Linked DNA regions of Homo sapiens: region 1 is linked to region 2. Evidence: promoter capture Hi-C in 16 types of primary human blood cells and fetal thymus (Javierre and others, 2016). All regions are on one chromosome and are shown on one strand. Each heading gives the region's core, a stretch centred on a gene start or on the middle of the fragment in contact. The rest is flanking DNA. Distances are from core to core; before and after follow the strand shown. Region 1 overlaps CARMIL1 (capping protein regulator and myosin 1 linker 1). Region 2 holds the start of CARMIL1 (capping protein regulator and myosin 1 linker 1).

Evidence for each region. Contacts are between HindIII fragments. The CHiCAGO score rates a contact against its expected background, and 5 or more counts as called.
Region 1: a contact is called between a fragment that was not itself captured here and the fragment with the promoter of CARMIL1 in region 2, in 1 of 17 cell types (naive CD4 T cells). The highest score is 6.3, in naive CD4 T cells.

The regions. Positions count from the first base shown.
Region 1 is chr6:25,366,821-25,372,054 of GRCh38, reverse strand. All of the region lies in intron 2 of CARMIL1 (capping protein regulator and myosin 1 linker 1), which reads right to left. It overlaps LOC124901281 (a long non-coding RNA gene), which reads left to right. Exons shown (of 3, transcript XR_007059512.1): 2 at 1,976-2,109. Among named protein-coding and RNA genes, the nearest start is that of CARMIL1, 90 kb to the right of the region's middle. The HindIII fragment of the contact is 4,612 bases long and covers 309-4,920 here.
Region 2 is chr6:25,276,326-25,281,728 of GRCh38, reverse strand. It overlaps CARMIL1 (capping protein regulator and myosin 1 linker 1), which reads right to left and starts at 2,355. Exons shown (of 37, transcript NM_017640.6): 1 at 1,894-2,355. The coding sequence starts at 1,933. RefSeq lists a silencer at 2,158-2,627. The HindIII fragment of the contact is 9,381 bases long and covers 1-5,403 here.

The DNA.
Region 1 (5,234 bases), core at 1,365-3,864, 90 kb before region 2:
AATTGATCTTTGACAAAGTATACAAAAACATAAATTGGAGAAAGGACACCATATTCAACAAATGGTGCTGAAAAAACTGGATAGCCACATGTATAAGAATGAAACTGGATCCCTATCTCTCACCATATACAAAAATCAACTCAAGATGGATCAAAGACTTACATCTAAGAGCTGAAACCAATTACAGTAGACAACCTAGGAAAAACTTCTGGACATTGGTCTAGGTAAAGAATTTATGACTAAGACCCCAAAAGCAAATGCAAGAAAAACAAAAATAAATAAATAGAACCTAATTAAACTAAAAAGCTTCTGCACAGCAAATCACCATCAGAGTAAACAGATGACCCACAGAGTAGGAGAAAATATTTGCAAACTATGCATCCTACAAAGAACTAATACCCACAATCTACAAGTAACTCAAATAAATTAGCAAGAAAACAAACCAAATAATCCCATCAAAAAGTGGGCAAATGACATGAATAGACATTTCTCAAAAGAAGATATACAAATGGCCAACAAATATACAAAACAATGTTCAACATCACTGATCATCAGGGAAATGCAAATTAAAACCACAACAAGATACCACCTTACCCCAGCCAGAATGGCCATTACTAAAAAGGTAAAATACAATAGATGTTGGCATGGATGTGGTAAAAAGAGAACACTTACTTATACACTGCTGGTGGGAATGTAAATTAGTACAACCTCTATGGAAAACAGCATGAAGATTCCTTAAAGAACTGAAAGTAAAGATACCATTCCATCCAGCAATCTCACTACTGGGCAACTACTAAAAGGAAAAGAGGTAATTCTATCAAAAAGACACGTGCACACATCACAGCACCATTCACAATTGCAAAGATACAGAACCAACCTAAGTGCCCATCAACTGATGAATGGATAAAGAAAATGTGGTCTATATACACTATGGAATACTACTCAGACATAAAACAGAATGAAATATCTTTCACAGCAATTTGGATGGAGCTGGAGGCCATTATTCTACGTGAAGTAACTCAGGAATGGAAAACCAAATACCGTATGTTCTCACTTATAAGTGGGAGCTAAACTATGGGTACACAAAAGCATACAGAGTCATTTAGCGAACTTTGGTGACTCAGAAGAGGGGAGGGGAGGAGAGAGATGAGGGATAAAAAAAAGCTACATATTGGGTACAATATACACAGATGATGGGTGCACTAAAATCGCAGACTTCACCACTATACAATTTGTCCGTGTAACCAAAAACCATTTGTACCTCAAAAGCTATTGAAATTTTACATATATATATATCAACTAAAAAAAAAATATGTTTAGTGAATGAAACTCCTGGTTCAACCTACAGTTGGTCCTTTAGACTTTCCACTTCCTAAGTGAGAATAGCTCTCAGGGTGGAAGAGCTACGAGGCAGACAAACCCCATAGTGCTACTCTATCATCCCACACAAATGCAGGGGCTGTATGACTCCGTCGGGGCAGTACAAAAGACAAAATATTCCTGTCCTTTGCTCTTAAGAGCAAGCACATCATGGCAGACAGTTTACAATTATTTTCCACGTCTTCTTTACTAGCCAGGCCATTCATGTCTTTATATTTGACAACTGGCTACACACCCTCAAAAATAAACACAGTGATGGAAAGGTTGCTCTGTTCCCTGCTAATACATGTGTAATAAAGCTACTCTTGCAGATGCTTGGCGCTGTGGTCAAAAGGAGCACCTTCCCCCGCCTACCCCCATAAAGATGAAGGTCTTGAATAAAATAGAAGCCACACAGAGTCCAGTTCTGAAATGAAAATATCACACTCATAAAAGCATTAAGAAGGTTCCCTATTGAGCTGGTTTCAAATGTTTAATTACTGTAATTATATGCATACATACTTTATCACTGTTTTCTAATGAGGTTGGCAAGGAGACAGAAACTTGGCATTTTATTCCTAGTTTAATGCGCTTGTTTTTATGCTTACTGTAACAGCTTGCTAGAAGAGCACTGGAGATAGAGTCGGATACGCTTTAAAGGACAAGGGAAAACAGCTCCCAGTGGATGGTACACACATGGCAAAAGGCCAAGAGTAGAAGCACCGTCATTAGGAAAAGGAATCAGCCAAGGTAAGCAACGTCATTCACAAACAGAAAAACCTGGACTGCAACCTACCTACCTTCTCTCCTCACTTCAAATAAGACTTTGAGCTTTAAAAACAAAGAGCGTGGCTGGAAGGGGGAGCCACAGCTGCTTAATCTGAAAGCACCTTTCAGTTTCTTCACAAAAGTTTCCAAGTCAAGGGGAAAATTCAACACCCAAACACACAAAGCAAGCTCCAGAGGCAAATGTGGGCACTTCTGAGAGCAGCAGTACTCCAGGGTTGGTTCCTAGCCTACGAGAGTTCTGGTGAAAGAGGCTACTGTGAACCAAAGGCCCAGCCTTCCTGCAGGGGAGGAAAGTCAGCAGTTTACTTGGGAATTTGCCACCTCGATACATAGCAAGTGAGGAAGTGGTGAGAGGTGGCAGATGGAAAGGGGTAAGGGGGGCGAGGGGCACAAGCTAGATCCAGACAGCTGTGGTGTTATAAAAATGTAGCAGCCAAGCAATGTGGAAACGGGAGTCTTAAGCATCTGATTAACTGAGAAGCAGCTGTGGTAATTTCTGGACTAGCTTTAAAAAAAAAAAAAAAAAACAAAATACAGCATTGCATTCAACTGTTAAGCTGACTGCAAGAGCGATCAATGGGTTGAGAATTAAACTAAAGCTCGAGACACTGAGCCTTGCTCTAATGGTGTCGATGGCACAGGGCCATGCTACGGGGTAAAACCAGGTTATGATGAGTTCCCCGTCTGGGACTTCCAAGAAGCGTTCCCTAGAACAGGATCCAAGACAGATCCACCCAATATTTAAATCCAGTCTTTAACAAAGGCCCTGTATAGACACCAGACTAACTAATTTGAGCCTAAAAGGAGACTCCTAAAAGTTCAGATAAACTTAGTTACTTACACTCCTCTATTACAGCAGAAATAGACATGTGATCTAATCATGTAAGGGGTTTTAAATTCAGCCAAAATAACTGGCAAATTTTCCTTGCTAAAATGGCAAAAACGAACCCTCCTAACAGAATTGCTCCACTGTAATTATTTACAGTAAATCAATAAGTACATCATTCTATATAACATACTGATCAATACAACACATTTTGACCAATTAAAGATTTTACTCAAAAAACATGAGTCTGGGACAAGGAAGAATATACATACATGAGGCCATTTATCACATTAAAATATATAAAGCAAGAGTGTAGACATGTAAAATCTCATTAATTCCACATCTAAATATTTCAACCATTTCTGAAAGGTAGACAAGAGGACTCCAGAGTAAAGAGTACAGGACTTAACCATTTTAGTAGAGATTTTAGGGTGATTCACAGAACTGCCAATCAGGTGGGTCTTATGTTATTGGTTATATCATAATCATCTGGGGTTCTATGAGATTCCTGAGTAATGTCTGTTTTGTCTCCCTAAATTGAATGTATGTCTTTGGTTTCATTTGAAAACATTGATCTGTATGTAGCTGGTGCTTATCAGGAGGTGTTAGCTGTCTGTTCAATGTGCTCTAAGAGTGATGTACTGGGCTAATTTAACTCAAATAGCTTTATAATTCTGTCACAACCTCTCTGCAGCCGCCTACTTTTCCTAGGGCAGGGAAATGGAAATCATTTTAAGAAACGGAAAAAGTGTGGTTTAAGTAATTCAGCTTAGCTTATTTCCCTTGGGAAAAGGACAGTTAACAACTACTCTCAGAAACTAAGTAAGTCGTGTCTGACCTCTATTAGTTATTTAAATTTAGCCATACCTTTAACTAATAAAGAGAAGGTGTCCTAGTCAACTCCAGTAAGGATCAGGGTTCTCTGCTTCTGGCATACCAACTGATTTGAACTCTGAATTTCTCTCAGAGTTGTGCTCAGAATTTTACTGATAGTTCAGCTGACGTGGAAAGGTCTGAATGCAGCCGGGTGCGGTGGCTCACGCCTGTAATCCCAACACTTTGGGAGGTCAAGGCAGGCAGATCACTTGAGGTCAGGAGTTTGTGACCAGCCTGGCCAACATGGGGAAACCTCATTTCTACTAAAAATGCAAAAATCAGCCGGGTATGGTGGCATGTGCCTGTAAATCCCAGCTATTCGGGAGACTGAGGCAGGAAAATCATTTGAACCTGGGAGGCAGAAGCTGCAGTGAGCCGAGATCATGCCACTGCACTCCAGCCTAGGCGACAGACCGAGGCTCCGTCGGGGTTTGGGGGAGAGTCTGAATGCAGCACAGGAGAGGTGGTCTGTAGATAATGAAGCCAAGTGTGGGCTGTTTGGAAGTCAAGTGTTCACACATGGGAACCTGTCTCAAAATATGAATTACTTCCTTACTGCATTAATATTCTCCCTCCTTAACTCTTCCCTCTCCAAGTCTTACCCTCCTTACCTTCCTCTTCAAGCCTTAACAGGACTGAGTACCAGCAAGGGCACACACAGCCACATCACACACAGCTGAGTGTTCTGGGGGCACTGGTGATGTTGGTTTGCTAGCTCTCCCCTAGGAGGTCCTTCCAGACACAGCAGCAACCCCCACACTTCCTGCTCCTCAATGGCAGCCACCCTCCAAACCACTCCCAAACCCCAAATCAGCCCCAAGGAGACCAGGTCTTCACCCCACTCAGCAGCTTACATCCCACTTGACCAAACTGTCAATGACAACATTGCTTTGTTTGTTTTTTAACCAGCATCTATAGGGATACCCTCAGAATTCTTAGCACTAACAAAAAGAGCTCCAAATAGAGAAATTGAAACCAAAAGTTTACATCACAGATCCCCCTTCCACCAAAAAAGTAAATGTTATGCAGCACTAAACCACACCCCCCACATCAAAACTGCAGCACAAGCTTTCCGAACATTTGAGAGAAACCAATTTTCACAGTAGCAGCCAACATGTGAAAATACTTTTATTGCAAAATTGAAGAGTATAGTTCAGCAAATGCATACTGGAATGCTACTATGAGTAACTGCACAGGTGGTTATGCAAACACTGAACTCATGCTTCAATTTGGCAGAAGTATAAACATTTCTAGAATAGTACACAAGGTTCAGTTACCTAGATCTGCTAGTTAACTTCCTTTACCTCTGAAAGAGCTCCCCCAAAGTCAATCATTTTCCAAAAGAAAAGTCATAGTTAGAAATACATTTTAAGTAGGCAAGAAA
Region 2 (5,403 bases), core at 1,106-3,605:
TGAGCACTTGAATTTAGAGGAAAGCAGGTGCAGGTATTTATTCTATCCCAGCCTAACTTGACCACTGAAAGGCCCAGAAAAATCATATCGGGCATAATATGTCACTCTCTTGAAAGAGATAGGCAATACTTAATAAAAACAAAAATTCCATTTCAAGATAAAGGTCAAACTCAACTTTTAAAATATACAAACTATTCCTTTTGAGAACCATGAATAGAAACCCAGACACCTTATTTCCACTCTACCCTTCACTCTTTCTCTTGGGCCTAAGTAATTACCTACACTTTCCATTTCCAGACTTAAGGACAACTCCTTATATAAAGTAAAAATCTGCCACCCACTTTAGCCATCCTTATCCCCTGACCAGCCAGGCAAGCCCTGCCCTACACTCATTCTCAGGACCTCTGGAGGCGTCTTCAGAGCCTCTGGCGTTTGCTTGGGGTGTTGGAAAGGTCGCAGCCTCCCAGAACCGGATGTGTCACTCACTCCAGCAAAAGATGCAGACTCCACAGGGTTGGGGAGAGAGAAGAGGATCTGCTGGGATCATGATGAGAGGTGCGTGTGTGTGTGTGTGTGTGTGTGTGTGTGTGTGCGCGCGCGCACACGCGCGTGCGTCTGTGAATAATTTCATACTGTAAATTCTGGTAAAAGATCAGGTTTGTCTGTAATTCAGCAGAAGTAGGGGCTTCCATACAAACCTAGCAACAGCCTCTCTACATCAAGTTTTACCTGCTGAGTTAACAGTCACCAACGGAAGGGCATACACAAATTCCTCCAAAGTATTATTAGCTAAAAGAAACAACAGAGGGGCAAATTCCACACATGGAGATCAACGGGTGCTCAGAACTTCCTCTTGTTGTCAGCGCCGATTAAACATCATCTTTGTGAGCTGTAGGCTGTGTAGTGTGCCAAGAATGGTACAGGAGGGAATATAGGTCACTAGGGCTCAAAACACATCTGTACACAGACGCACATACCTTGTTACAGTATAACATGCTACACACATATACATGCTTAAACGCTAGGTTTTCAGAACACTCTCCCATCCTATTTCAGCTCTGCCATTTTAACCCTCCAGATAATTAAGTTAAACCCCAAGACTTAACCAGCCCCGCCCCCACCACCACCAAAAAAAAAAAAACCTCAAGGTACTCAAACAATGGGTCACCTTGCACAGCGTAACACACACGGGTTCCCTAAGAGATCCCCTATAGGGAGAATCGGTAGGTTAATCATTATTAAAATAAGGCTTTTATCATTAACCCTCTATTTCCTGGCCTGAGTCTGCGTCAGCCCTGTAACCCTTTCGCTCCCAGCTGGCTACACCAAGCCACACCTTGCCAAGCCCAGTCATTTTACCAGACTAGCGCCCACTCCCCCAAGTCTGCGTGTCAGAAGATCACCTCCCGCGGGGCATTTTCAGGAAAGCGCCTGACACGTGCCGGAGACGACCTACTGTGCGCTCGCCACCTGTCCTTCCAATAGGCTTTCCCGGACTTTCCCGAGTTTGGGGCAGTGGGCTGGGAGCTGTAAAGGGCTCCCCTCGCTTGCAGAACTCCCAAGTCTAAGATGGCCCGCCCCCTTCTTTCGCCAACCTGGATCCCCGCTTCCGGGCAAGAGGAGGTGCCCAGGGCTCACAGTCGAGACCCTCCTCCCACCCACCTCCCGAGGACTCCCGATTCCTCCCCGAAGCCTTCCCTCTCTGCACTTGGCTCTACAGGCGGTCGGATGGGAACAAACTTCCCGGCACCCCCAGTGACCCTGCCCAACACCACTCTGCCCTAAGGGGCGCCAAGACTTCTCGAGACCTGCGGGAAAGCAGAGGTGGGAAGGGAGAGAGAGGTGAGGAGTACGCAGAGGAAGGTGGAAAACCAACAACCGCGTGAATCTTACCTATCAACTCCCTGGGAACGTCAGAGCTCTCCTCGGTCATGGTTGCCCTGTAGGTGTGGGGGTTATTGCAGGTCCAACTCTGATTTATGGCCCCCTGCCCTTCCCCGAACTCCTCAATTTTTTTAGAGAGGCAGATGCAGCTTGCAAATGGAAGTGGGCAAGAAAAGGGGGGGCGGAGACAGAATTTTGCCGCGCGCCCCCCGCCCCACCAAAAAAAAAAAAAAGAGTTGCAAATGCGAGGCGGATTTGCTGCTGCTGCTACATGACGCCTCCTCGCAGTTCCCGGCGGCTGAATAAGGAGCGGACCGGATTACAAGCGGGCGCGGGGCGCGGGGCGGCTGTGGCGCCTGCTCCTCCTCCCGGCTCGCTGGTCCCCGGCGGGGCTTGGGCCGGCGTAGCTCCCGCCCAGCCTCCGCGCCGCACCTACAGCCCTAGGTGAAAGCGGAAGGCGTGGGAGAGGGCGGGGAGAGCGGCGCGGGGCGGGGGGAGTAGGTTTTCCTCGCGCTCCTGCCGGGCTCCGGCTGGGCGGGGGCAGCTCCGGCCCTCCTCCTTCTCCTCCTTCTCCTTCTCCTCTTCCTCCTGCGTTTCCTCCTCACCTCGCGAGAGCCGGCCTCCGCACCGGTGCGAGGCCGGCCTCCGGTGCCCGAGCGCTGGGTCCCCGGCGTAGGTCGCACCCCCAGGAGAGACGCTGTGCGGTGCTGCGGTGGCGGCGGCGGGCACCGCGCCCCTCCTCGCAGCCTCCCTCCCAAACCGCAAAAGCCCTGCGTCTGGAGAGGGGGCGAGCGGGCTCGCGAGAGAGCCCGGGAGCCATCTGCTGGCTGCGAGGGAGGAGAGCCGGGTGAGCCGGGCTTTCCATTTCCTTGTCCCCACTCCGGGCGGGCCAGGGGACCCAGAAGACGGGAGACGGCAGATTCTGCAGACCCGTCTACACGGAAGCTGGTTCTTTTTGGGACCCTCTTACGCACTTTTTCTTTTTCAACCCTCCCGGTGACATGTCACTTCATCATCGCTATTCTTCATTTCTGATGAGCTAGACGAAACCTGTGAACACTAATCATACCGTGAGAAGACACTTGTGTGTGTGCGTTCAGCTGGTGCTCTGCAGCCGCAGTTCGCTATCTCAGACATTCCCGTTGAGAGCGCCTTGGAAAATGCCTTTCACTCGGAAAAGTCTCTTTTATCCTCGGGGCATATTCAGGAAGCTGAGCTTTAATCACTGGAGCCTATGTAAGCCTGCGGATAGGTCTGATCCTACCTGGGCCCAAACTCCCTATGACTTCCCTGAGCTCCATCCCCAGAGGTTCAACTTCAGGGCCAAGAATACTTTGTGCCTCAATCGCTGCTTTTTAGCCTAGGGCTGGGAATGTCCCAGACTGTCTAATCAGGTTCTGCTTTTAAAGGACAGAAAAGGAGGAAAGGAAAGGGAATCCATGCACTTGGCAATCTAATTTTAAACACTGCTGTTGACCTTGGACCCCTTAGAATCATCTTCAGCCCCACAGCCAGGCCTTACCACTAAGGATTTGCCAACCTGGCCCCTTCCCACCCTCCTTAACCTCTCCCACTCCCTTCTCTATTACAACCAGACTCACTGTTTGCTTCCTCCTTCCTCTTAAGGTTATCTGATTCTTATCTATGTTTTCAAACCCATCCCAATGGTCTACCTTCTTTGTGAATATTTTCCAGGGATTTTCAGATTACTGTGATCCCTAAGCCTCTACAATATGTATTGCCTGAAACACTTTTCTAAACCCAACCATATGGTGTCGTGTTTCATTGCTTGTGTATTTGTCTGGTTTTACTATCTAACTCTTGCATTGTCCCCTGAGTTTGGATTTTTTCTGCCCAACTAGACTGTAGGTGAGTTGAAAGTGGGAATTTATCTTAGACTTTTGAACTTCTTCAACAGCCTAGTTCAAAATAGGTGTTCAATAAACATTTGTTAACTGATTTTAGAGCTTTGGACCTCAGGCCTCCAACCATTTGTTTCAAAAGTGGGCAATTTCTTTAAGCTAGACATTTCCTTAATGCATTAAATATATTTTTTCTGCAGTAAATGGAAATTAACATCTCAAACTGTCTTTCATTCAACCTGGTGTGTTAAAGAGGACTTTTCTGGCACATACCAATGAAGTTTCAGAAATGCCCTGAAGTTTCCAAACCATGTGATAACTTGTGAAAATAAGAACAAAAGTTTGTCTTTTTTTTTTTTTTCCTGTGGCCTGGGTGATGGAAAGAATAAAGGGAAGGCTGTATGGCAGTTCTGTAATTCAGTACTCTTTGGCTTCTTTTAAAGGAAGCTGGGGTTTCAATAAAAGAATCATTTTCACTGCAACAGGATCCTGATTGGCTCCTGCATCTCTGAAGAAGTGAATTCAAATGAATCTCCTATCACAACACTGAAAAATGACTGACTGATTTTGGAAATCAAAGTCATTTACTTCTCGGTTGCAAAACTCAAATATGTTTCAGAATAGCAAGCAGAGAACTCCAAGGAGCACTGTTTATAAAGCTGCAAACCCAACAAGCAGTAAACATCCCTAGCACCGTAAAACCATGGTGCCAGCTTGGAGAATGCAGTTTGCATTCTGAAATGTGTGCTTGTTTACTGAATCGGCCTGCCCCTTCTACTGCTACTGCTGCAAAAACAAACTTTTCTCACTCCATCACTCCAACTTCCTCAAATTCATCCCTGTTTATATAGTCTTGAATACACGAGTGATCAAACCACTACATGAAACTGATTGTGTTACATATGTGATTAGCCATAGCTTCATCTAAGTAAGTATTTACATGTGGCTGTGTTTAAGCCATACAACTAGTACTGATAATCTGAAAGCTGTTAGTAAGATAAAACTTTTTCAGAGAATCCCTACTGCATTTGAATCTGTAAAATGTTTAACATTTAACATATAGTGAGTGGCAACATTATTTTGAAAAGGAAGATGGAGAAGAGTGTAATTTGAAAAGCATGGCAAGGCCAGGTGCAGTGGCTCACATTTGTAATTCCAAATGCTTTGGGATGCCGAAGTGGGTGGATTGCTTGAGCCCAGGAGTTTGGGACAGACCAGACTGAGCAACATAGTGAAACCCCATCTCTTTTGAAACATACAGTGAGTGGCAACATTATTTTGAAAACTTATCCATGGATTTTTATTTTTAATTCTAAGCATATATTCACATCTATATAGTACATTTTGTAATGCATTATGGTCAGAAAACACTCTGAGTAAAAAAGTTTGCAGAAAATAGTGTCCCTAAAATGACACAACATGCTATCATTAGAACCATATCATGTAATGATTAAACCCATGGAGATAAAGCAAACAAAAAAGTTAAGAAGAAATCAGCACTCTAACAAAAAAAAAAATCACAAACTTACGTAGGTCAGTTTCTGATCTCGTCTACTGCATTAAGAACTGGTTTTAAAATGGAAAGGTATTCAGAAATGTGGGAACCACCAGCATTTTACTCCCCAAGTAATGATTTTAAGATTACCTTCCACCCCCA